Linked DNA regions of Homo sapiens: regions 2 and 3 are each linked to region 1. Evidence: promoter capture Hi-C in 16 types of primary human blood cells and fetal thymus (Javierre and others, 2016). All regions are on one chromosome and are shown on one strand. The core of a region is centred on a gene start or on the middle of the fragment in contact, and the rest is flanking DNA. Distances in the headings are between cores, read along the strand shown.

Region 1 (3,298 bases), core at 328-2,827:
ATTCAAACATTTTCCAGGCCTCTAAGCAGAATTATTTTTTTAACTCCTCAAAGCTTTTATGATACTTTTTCTTTATACTTCTGCTCTAGCTCTCAACACAGACTAAGCTTTATTTCAATAATCTGTTCATGCATCTGTCTCTTGAAATCCTAAAAAGGCCTGACCTCCAGCACTTAGTTCCTGTCCCACAGTAAATGCTATAGGAAGTTTTCAAAATTAGCATTGAATTAAAGCCATGTGTACATTATTATTGAGAATGACACATCCATTTAAGGAGTAAGAAAAGAAAATAGAATTGAATGAGTGAGTCTTTAGTTTGAGAAGATTTAAATGATCCAATCCATGAAGTGATATGAACTCATACTGCGAAAAAGGTCCCCTTTTCAGTGAACAGAAGTTAACTGAAAAATAAGACACTTAGTGGTGAAGGAGCCCCTCTCCACTCTGCAGCCACCAGTACTCAATACTGCTCCTTTCCTTCAGGGTCTTTGACAGTCTTTAGGGCAGTGGCAGTCATTCTTCATTATTTATTCTCTGGGCTTGTTTTTCCCATCTTGTCTTCCAGGTGCCCTGAGTGTAGCTCTTAGAACTCCAGGGCTTAAGATGAGATAATGTGTTGCCTGTGGGAGGGAAGCACTCCGGCTTCCACTTGAAAAGCTTTCATTTTGTTCCAGTACCCGAGGGAACATGAGCCTCTCTGGAATGTACTTGCTGCCCTCTTCCTTTGGCTTAGGTGTGTGTTCTCTCTGAGCAGTGGGATTGGAGAGAGGGAGGCAGACTGTTCTGGTTTCCTCCAAATACCCGCAAGTGCTGCATTGCATAGCCCCATATATGATGCGCTGGCAGGCAGATGGGCAGCAGTGGGGAGAGCTTGTTGTATCTGAATTTTAATTACATATGGTAAAGAATCCTTGCTAGTTTAGAGAAAGCTACTCTTCAGGTTTACTTTCTTTCAGTGAAGGGGCATTTTATCCAATTAGAGGGAAATTATCAGAGGCCAAGTTCTTATCTCAGTCTCTGCAGATTTACCACATAAGAAGATGCTAATTATAACTTCCTAACCAATGCAATAGGCTCTGCTCCAGTAGAGGAATCTTTTTAAACTCTTGGTTATAAAAATACTATACATATACACATTAATTAGAGTGAATTGTCAAGACCCCATGTGTAAACATATCCAGCTTCAACATTTATTAATTCTTACAGCAAATTTTATACCTCTACCCACCCCTATGCTCCCTGATTATTTAGAAGCAAAATCAGACATCACATTATTTCATTCATAAATATTTTTAAGTTTACAGGAATCCTGCCAGCAATATTGTTCATACAGTTTACCTTTGATTAATAAACTTCTTACCCTACCTGGAATCTGTATTTTGTTGCCTCAAAACTTGAAAAGTATTTGGTACTTCCACAGTATATTGAATTTGTAAAACTTACACAGAGAGTTGGATCATGTGAGTCAGCTCTACCCCAGTGATTAATGTATTCTGTACACAGTAGCACCCATGGTACAGGAACGCCCCTTCTTCGGTCACCTAGTAACTTTTCACTAGTCAACACCAAACTGAATAACCACTATGTTGTGAGAAAGTGCTGGGCTAGCTGACTCGGATCATCTCCTAGAGTTTAGGAGAAATAACAATCACAAAGTTTGAATTTGCAAAACCTTTAGGCTTTGCTGGCAGGAGAGAAAATACCACTTTTGGATCATAAAATGGATATGGAATACATGGGCTCAGGTAAACTGGGCCAAATATTGAAGCAGATTTGGAGACAAAACCAGATGCTAAAGCAGGCACTCTTGGGTGATGACCTTTGTGAGGGGGCTGGTGGGGCCACTTGGATGGCCACTGTGGTCTTTCTGGGTCAGGAACTCAGCAGTGCCCTTCACCAGCTGCTGGAGCACACCTCAGGCACCCTGCGTTCCACCTGCCAGCAGCTGCATGTGCTGCTTGACAAAGAGAATCAATGTGTCTCGAGAAAAGGCAAGTATTCTTTTTTTTAGTTTATTCTTTCTCTAAGAAATATTGATTAGGGCAAGATCTGAGAGGGGCTATGAGTATACCAGATAGGCTAAGATAGAGTTTCTGTCCACAAGAGACTAACAATTTCAAAGGGGAAATAAGTTGAGACAAATGCACAATAATGCCAGGGACATTGGGGCCAGTCCCATTAGAAACACATGAATGAAGTGCTTTTGGACTTCAGAAGCAGTTTAAATCCCATCTGTAGGGTGGGGAATTGAGAAGTTTGCTAGAAAAATGTAGTATTTAAGCTGAAGCTTAAAGAGTGAATTGGATTTATGCAGCAGGAAAGAGAGAGTCGGTAATTTTAGTAGGATCCAAGACTTAGAGACAGGAAAATACAGGCCACTGAGGCAGAGCTAGTAGTTTGTTTTTTATATCAGAATATAGTATTCTATCTCTAGGGTCATTTGAGCTTAGCCTTATTGATTGCAAAATTACTGGGAAGACTGGAGTGGGTTGGGATAGGGAATTGGATCCCCATGCACTGGGGCTGGAGAGGGATTCTTGGGAATAGGTCCAGTTATGGATGTGGAAAAGTACAGTAAGGCAGGAAGAATGTGGAATCTGATGAATATAATCCTAGATAACAACAGTTACTCCAGATAAGCATATAGGTGGCATCATGAAATTCAACTCTAAATAATACAGTATCAAGATAAGTGGGCAGGTTCCATCTATGAGGAAATCCAGGGTAGATGATGTTAAGAAATTCAATCTAAAGGGCAAATAGTGGGCATCAGGGAAATCTGTCTAAAGGCAGCATGACTGAGAAGCCATCAGCTGCAGCCCACAATGAGACCTTTAGCCTCTGGAGGGAGTGGAACATGGTCTTTGGCAATATAACAAGCAAATATATATTCAGAAAAAAACAAGGACTTGGTTACCAGAATAGGAGTTAAAAATAAAGACAAGTTCTCAGGTATAAGACAAAAACAAAACAAAACAAAACACAAGTTGTCAGAACTGGATCCCAAAGAAAAGCCCTGACTGGTGAAGGGATGATTTGGTGATGGCTTTAAAAACACTAAGCTATGGGGCCTTAAATTACCTATTCTTTAGTTCAGAACTGAATTCTAAAGACTAGAGAGGTACTAAGCCTGCAAGAAGTCATCAGGTGACCTCAGTAGTGAGGAGAAGCAGGATGAACAAATAGGAGAGTGGGAAGAATGATGACGGAGTGAGAGATTATATAAGATTTGATCATGCTAAGAGTTTACTTCAGAGTGAAGAAGGTTGACCTGAGTTAGTAGGCTTTGAGTAGCCAC
Region 2 (3,639 bases), core at 577-3,076, 1.1 Mb after region 1:
GGAAAAGGGAAAGATTATACATTGTCGGTGGAAATGTAAATTAGTTCAGCCACTGTGTCAAAAGCAGTTTGGAGATTTCTGAAAGAACTGAGAACTACCATTCAACTCAGCAATATCATGACTGGGTATATATCCAAAAGAAAATAAGTCTTTCTACCAAAAAGACACATGTACTCACATGTTCATCACAGCACAATAGCAAAGAATCTAGGTGTCCACGTCTAGTGGATTGGATAAAGAAAATATGGTACATAAACACCATGGAATACTACACAGCCATAGAAAAGCAAGAAATTATGTTCTTTGTAGCAACATGGATGAAGCTGGATGCTATTTTCCTAAGTGGATTAACTCAGGAACAGAAAACCAAATACCACATGTTCTCACTTACAAGTGGGAACCAAAAATTGGGTACTCATGGACATAAAGCTGGCAACAATAGAAACTGGGGACTACTCAGCCACACACACATGCTGCCATCAGTGGCACAGAGAATGAGGGAGGGGGCAAGGGTTGAAAACTATTGGGTACTATGCTGAGCACCTGGGTGATGGGATCAGTCGTATCCCAAACCTCAGCATCATGCAATACAGCCAGGTAACAAACCTGCGTATGTATGCCCTGAATCTAAAATAAAAGTTGAAATTATATATAAAAAAGCAGACGGCCGGGCGCAGTGGCTCAGGCCTGTAATCCCAGCACTTTGGGAGGCCAAGGCGGGTGGATCATGAGGTCAGGAGTTCAAGACCAGCCTGGCCAACGTGGTGAAACCCCCTTTTCTACTAAAAATACAAAAAAAAAAAAAATTAGCTGGGAATGGTGGTGCATGCCTGTAATCCCAGCTACTCGGGAGGCTGAGGCAGGAGAATTGCTTGAACCAGGATCCAGGAGGCGGAGGTTGCAGTGAGCCAAGATCACACCACTGCATTCCAGCCTGGGCTACAGAGCGAGACTCTGTCTCAAAAACAAACAAACAAAAGTAGACAACTTACACTCTGCTGTCTTGAGCAACTAGAGTTTGAAAAGCTTAGTTACAGTATTGGAGAATCCGTCCCCACTCCACCATGTGTGTGGCATCCCTGGAGGATGCTCATAGCATCTCACTACAGTTCCTCAATCCGTAGTGTGGATGAGGTGGAAATTTGCTGTGGGAGAAGCATTGGCAGGTGACCCTAGAAGAGCCAAGCCTGATACCACGCATGCGATGAGAGGAGCACCATTACCACCAATGGAGGCAGGTAAGAGGTTCTTCTGTGACTTCACATTTAGAGGGGTGTTCCCATACAGCAGGCAAGAGGAATCTTGCCTGCAGTAGTATGCCTTGTCAACTCCCTGAGCTCTCAGTGAACCAACACCCATGTAGCATCCTCATCGGGGCTGTGAGATTACACACATATATAAACAAACACAATCTGTCAGCATTGAGTAAAGAAGCAGCAGAGACCAAAAGAATGGGCATATCACCATTGTTGCTTGAGTATAAGCAGATGTCAGAGCAGACTTCTACCTCCACTTACACACACACACACACACACACACACACACACACTGCCATCAGTGGCACAGCTAGCAGGGAACAGAGAATGGGTCATGCTCATACCCACCACAGGCAGCTCCTGGCAGTGGACCCTAAGCCCAGTATGCACAAAGTAAGAAGAAAGAAGCCCAGAGAGCTACATTTTGAACGGGGCCATATTTTAAACCAAAAATATGACAACTTAAGGGATTGAACTGTGAAATCTGTTGTTATTCAGCAAGTTTGTTTTTTCACTAGGCAGAAGAGTAAAGACAAGACAAAGTGTGTAGCTGTAACTGACAAAGACTAACATTCTATTTTTGTATATCACTGAGTTACTCTCAAACTTATAGCATATAGGTCAGTTCCTTCTCACCTTCTCATCACTCTCCTTCAGGTTAAATTATGTCTCCTTACAGTTTAGTTTCTTTAAATAATTTTTAGTAAAAGAAAACTATATGATGAGATTTCTTAAATCATTTGAAATAATTACAGTATTTTTAAAATCACTTAGCTTTGGAAAATATTTCACATTTATCCATATTCCAGTATGTTTGCTTTATCATTTTAGGTATACAAAACAAAATACACACATGAAAAATTTAAATAAGTACTTAATTTTCATTCATATTTTAAAGTGCAGGGGGGTTTGTATCATTTAGTTCTAACCTTTATAAGTACAGTTCTACCAACCAAAATGTATTTTAAAATGAGAAAACAGTCATTGATTTGAACTGGAAAGTCATCTAAATTAAACAGTCTAGCTTAAAAAGATCTTTCTTACAAATTTTATTTAAATAAAAATCTAAAGCCTCAGATTTTCCAGGTATTTTGCTCATATAGTCCAGAGAAACAAATATTTCTTTACTTATAAAAATGTTTGTCCAGTTGAAATCAACTAGTTATCATAGCTCTGAAATAGGTTTCAATAATTAGTGACTTGATATCACCAAAAGAGCTTTAGAATGGACAAACATGGAAAATTAGCTTTCTTCTCAACAGTATTTAATTGTCTGGTGAAAGCCAAGAGGGCCGTTGAAATAATTATTGCTAATATATTAAGTATTTCCACAGTAAACTTTTACTAACATATAAGCTATTTCTATAGCTTAAGCTTAGTTGGTGTAAGAAAGCATTTTTTTATGATAAAAAGAATTATGGAGAAAAAGTGGACGGGAGAGTACTCAGTCTCTTTATAATTTAATTGGTAAAGAAAAATGTTCACTTTTATAGCTGTAGTCCAAAGGACTTCTAAGTAGGCCAGCAACAACTTTTTAAAAAGGTAAAATGTAAACATCATGTTTTTAAAAAGACAGTAGGGCTGTGGAGACAAATGTGATTAGACACACTCAATTTCCAGAAGGAAATGAGTCATTTCTTGGTAAGCTGGCTTTACAGATAGAGGAACCCCCAAATCACTGGGAGTTTTCTCCATGAATGCTCAATGCTGAACATTGAGCAACATGGGAGGTTAGGAAGCTGGGATGGAAAGGCAGAATAAAGTCTCCAATAATATCTTGGTGTACAGGAGACAAAGTCCACTAGAATGTAGCACAAACATCTAACTGGTGTTGCCTTTGAGGCATTTTAATTCAAAGTAAGCAGAATCTAAAACTGCAACCGAGCCGCGGCCCAGTTCAGTTACTAATGGGAATGTGATAAGCCTCCCATTGCCCTATCAGTCTAACATAGGAAAGGAACCCCTAAATAACCATTATTTTAAAAATGAAGTTCAGAATACCATGAAAATTACAAGACATGCAAGGAATCAAGAAACTATGACTAATTTTAAAAGGAAGACTAAAGAATAGATGAAACAAGCAGAAAGATAACACAACTATTTTATTCACTGTAAATAATCTAAATCTTCCTATTAAATACAGGTTCAACTGTATGCGGTTTTCAAGAGTTCTCTTTAAAGGAAAGGGCATAAATCGGCTGAGAGTAAAATGATAAAAGTATGTATATCTAGATATAGATATATATGCCATGGAAAGATTAACCAAAAGAAAATTACATCAATATCATATAGTAGGTTTTAAGTTAAGATAAAGTAGGATGTTTCATAATGATAAAAGGTTCAATTCAACAGAAAAATGTAATATTTCTATATTTCTATGCAC
Region 3 (3,605 bases), core at 699-3,198, 1.6 Mb after region 1:
AAGACGCTGTCCACCGGCAGAGTATCTGCTATGTGTTCAAAGCCGATGATCAAACAAAAGTAAGTGAGATGGAGATCCAAAAGACTAAGGTGTGGCTGGCTGGTTTTTATTGTATGGGGGTCAGGATATTTATTTTAAGTATACTGAAATGAATAAGGAATTAATGCTGCAGTTATAAATTGATTACTTAGCTGAATTTTTGTTTTATGGTGATAGTTTATAGTTTTAAAGCACATTTGAAAACAGATACGAGAAATTATCAGTTTTTGAGTTCAAAAATTCAAGAGAAATCAGTCTAAAACTACTAATTAAGAGCAGAAGTGTTAAGATGTACATTATTTCAGATGAATGTTCTAAAGCCATGCCTCTCAAACTGAAATGAGCTTGTGAGTCACCTGGGGATCTTGTTAAAATGTGAATCTTGATTCAGTAGGTCTGGGGTGGACCCCAAGACTGCATTTGTAACAAGCTGCCAAGAAATGCTGATGCTGCCCTTTTGCAGGTTGCACTTTGAGTGGCAAAGTTCTAAATCTCCACATTTGTAATCCTATTAAGAAAAATATAGTCATTCGTAAACTGTGTAAAAATGCTACTGGCCAGTTTCCCAAGGCATAATGTTCACTTAGGCAAAGGTCATTGATAAGAACGCTGGATATGCATCTAAGTTTTGATGCGATCAGGGGTTCTTTGTGTTTTTTTCTTTCGCAAACCTCAGGTCAGATCTGATTAGCTTGTTATTATCACATGATATGGCTGAAAAAAAATGTGAGACATGGTAAAAGTTCTGCTCTTTCCTCGTTCATTTGTGCTTGCTTTGTTATTAGCATTCGTTGTAGCTCTGGGCAGGACTCATTTGAAGATGCTTGCCCATTTTATGAGGATTAGCTTAGATAAAATTGAAAATATAATGCAAATAGCAACTTTCTCAGTTGGGCTCAGGGCTCCACAGCTAACCCCATGGACTGTGGAGTCTTGCCGTTGTTTTGGGTGCCAAGCAAGCCAAGTCACATGTGATTCAAGCTGTCTGCCACATGTACAGGGCGAGGATGCGAGTGTCAATCCACCTGTTAACTGTCAGTGAAGCCTTGAAAGCTTCTCATATTTTCAAGGTTAAAATCTGGATAGAAATGCTAAAGTTTTCTCTCTGCACTCCATTAGGTTATTTTATGTACTCTCTAGGGTGTAAGGACCTTATTTAGAAATTAATATTCTTGGTATCAAGTAGATGCCCTTTTGCTTGTTCATTTGTTGGTTCTTCTAGTCATTCAGAATTGCTGTTGCAGGTACTGTTGGAGATGATATTAGCAGAGGCTTGTAGGAAGGCAGGAGCATCAGTGGGGAATAGGACCAGGTGATCTATGTATAGGACATAATGGAAGGACTGAGAAGGGAGCCTAACACACACCCAAAGGGTAGAGAAGGCTTTGTGAAATAAAGGCTAATATGGAGCTCAAAACCACCATTTCACTCACAGAATCAAACTCTCATATTATAAATCATTTCATGTTATTGTCCACACATCTCAAGTGGGCACGGCAGCATCAGGCTTGGAGATTCAGAGGGACTAACTTCCTGTACTCTAATCCTACTTCTGCACCCATAAACTGGGTGGCCTCAGGCAATTGAGTCTGTTTTCTTATCTGTTAAATGGGGATAATTACAGTATTTATCCAATAGAGTTGCTGGAAAGACTAAATGAGGTAGCACTCGACCTGAAACTTAGTAAGCATTTATAGCCATAAAAACATTTTCATTCAAGAAAATTTTACTAGAGGCAGATTATATGCTAATTTCATTTCACGTCTTAGGTAAAAAGAAACATGATACCTAGATGAGTGCCTTCAGCTTTCAAAGATGAGATTCTGGTCATATTTGAGGAACATTTTAAAAACTACACGTATAACTTAATGGCTCCTATTATTTGGACAAATTCCAGAATGAAAATGAGAGGACTGAACAGCCTGTACCTCAGTCCAGCTCTATATAGTATTTGGACTGAATTTCCTTGGGGAGAGTTTGTGCGTGGAATCGTTGTTCAGCATTTTACACATTTGACTCTTTCCCAAAATCTTTTACGGCCATCTGAGAATAGGCTTCTGGCCAGTCATTCGGATGCCTGACAAGAGAAAGAGATTTATAACCAAATTCTGTAATTGGGACTTCCAGTCTTTCCCCAAGTAGAGAATTGGACTTACTCTATATGCTAAAAACCCATGGTTGAAATATGAATTAGTTCTTAAGTGATTTTTGGCTTGCATACCATTTTTGCAAACACAAATTGTCATTACTCTGCTCATTTAATAAAAGAATAATTTGTAGTATAGGTATATACCTCAATCAGTGATTTTGTTGTTGGAAACAGAACAGTAAATCACACTGGCCATGATGCTAACAGCGTGATAGATTTTCTGTTCTTGGGACACCAATGTCACTGTATCTCATAGCGAAGGATTATCTGCTGTAGGAGCATTCTCTTGACTACTTATAACATTTGCTGGGTGAAATAATTCTCCAGGTTAAGGCCTCTTCTAAACAGATGAGGTCAGCACTAACTGCATTTGCCAGAGAAGACATATGCATTTACTGCCAGCATCATAAACACAAAACTACAGTTTGCGAGGAAACCCTTTGACCAGCATCTAATTAATTCACTGAGTAATGTCTTGGGAGAAGAGGCATGTAAAGGAACAATTTTATAAGCATGCCATGAGATTGTTTTCTATTGTATGTTCCATAGAATATGAGGAAACTTCAAAACATTTTGTGGAAAAATTGAATTAAAAAGTAAAAAACACATATATACATAAGCTTTATTTCTCAAGATAAACTTTATCAAGTTCAAGACACTTTTGTAAGCAATGTTAACAGCCATTGAGTCGGTCTCTAAAGAACTGAGGGTCCTGGGAATTTAACCATGTTTATACAGTCTTTTATACATTATTAACTGGAGAAAAATTGGCGCTCTTTAAAGATTTTTTAAAATTGAGAAGCAAAAGGACGTCAGAAGGAGCCAAATTAGGCCTGTAAGGTGGATGCCTAATGATTTCCCATGGAAACTCTTGCAAAATTGCTCCTGTTTGATGAGAGGAATGAGCAGGAACATTGTCATGGTGGACAAGGACTCTGGTGAAGCTTTCCCAGGCGATTTTCTGCTAAAGCTTTGGCTAACTTTCTCAAAACACTCTCATGATAAACAGATGTTATCATTCTTTGGCCCTCCAGAAAGTCAACAAACAAAATGCCTTGGGCATCCCAAAAAACTATTGCAACCATTTGCCCTTGACCAGTCCACTTTCGCTTTGACTGGACCACTTCTGCTCTCAGTAGCCATTGCTTAAATTTGTCTTGATCTTTAGGATTGCGCTGGTAAAACTATGTTTCATCACCTGTTACAATTCTTTGAAGAAATGCTTCAGGATCTTGATCCCACCCGTTTAAAATTTCCATTAGAAACTCTGCTCTTGTCTGCAGCTGATCTGAGGGCAATGGTTTTGGCACCCATCTAGTAAAACGTTTGCTCAGTGTTAATTTTTCATCCAGGATTGTGTAAGCTGAACCAGCAGAGATGTCTATGATATTGGCTAGTTGGTCCTCTTCAATGAGGG

The links. Contacts are between HindIII fragments. The CHiCAGO score rates a contact against its expected background, and 5 or more counts as called.
Region 2: a fragment that was not itself captured here is called in contact with the fragment with the promoter of DTHD1 in region 1 in 2 of 17 cell types (M1 macrophages and M2 macrophages); the score reaches 5.1 in M1 macrophages.
Region 3: a fragment that was not itself captured here is called in contact with the fragment with the promoter of DTHD1 in region 1 in 1 of 17 cell types (M0 macrophages); the score reaches 7.5 in M0 macrophages.

What each region holds. Positions count from the first base shown.
Region 1 is chr4:36,280,039-36,283,336 of GRCh38, forward strand. It overlaps DTHD1 (death domain containing 1), which reads left to right and starts at 1,578. Exons shown (of 10, transcript NM_001170700.3): 1 at 1,578-1,991. The coding sequence starts at 1,721. The HindIII fragment of the contact is 1,630 bases long and covers 656-2,285 here.
Region 2 is chr4:37,363,177-37,366,815 of GRCh38, forward strand. The region is part of intron 3 of NWD2 (NACHT and WD repeat domain containing 2); the gene reads left to right. Among named protein-coding and RNA genes, the nearest start is that of PGCKA1, 89 kb to the right of the region's middle. The HindIII fragment of the contact is 1,604 bases long and covers 1,025-2,628 here.
Region 3 is chr4:37,902,454-37,906,058 of GRCh38, forward strand. TBC1D1 (TBC1 domain family member 1) reads left to right here. Exons shown (of 22, transcript NM_001396959.1): 2 at 1-59. Among named protein-coding and RNA genes, the nearest start is that of TBC1D1, 13 kb to the left of the region's middle. The HindIII fragment of the contact is 1,716 bases long and covers 1,091-2,806 here.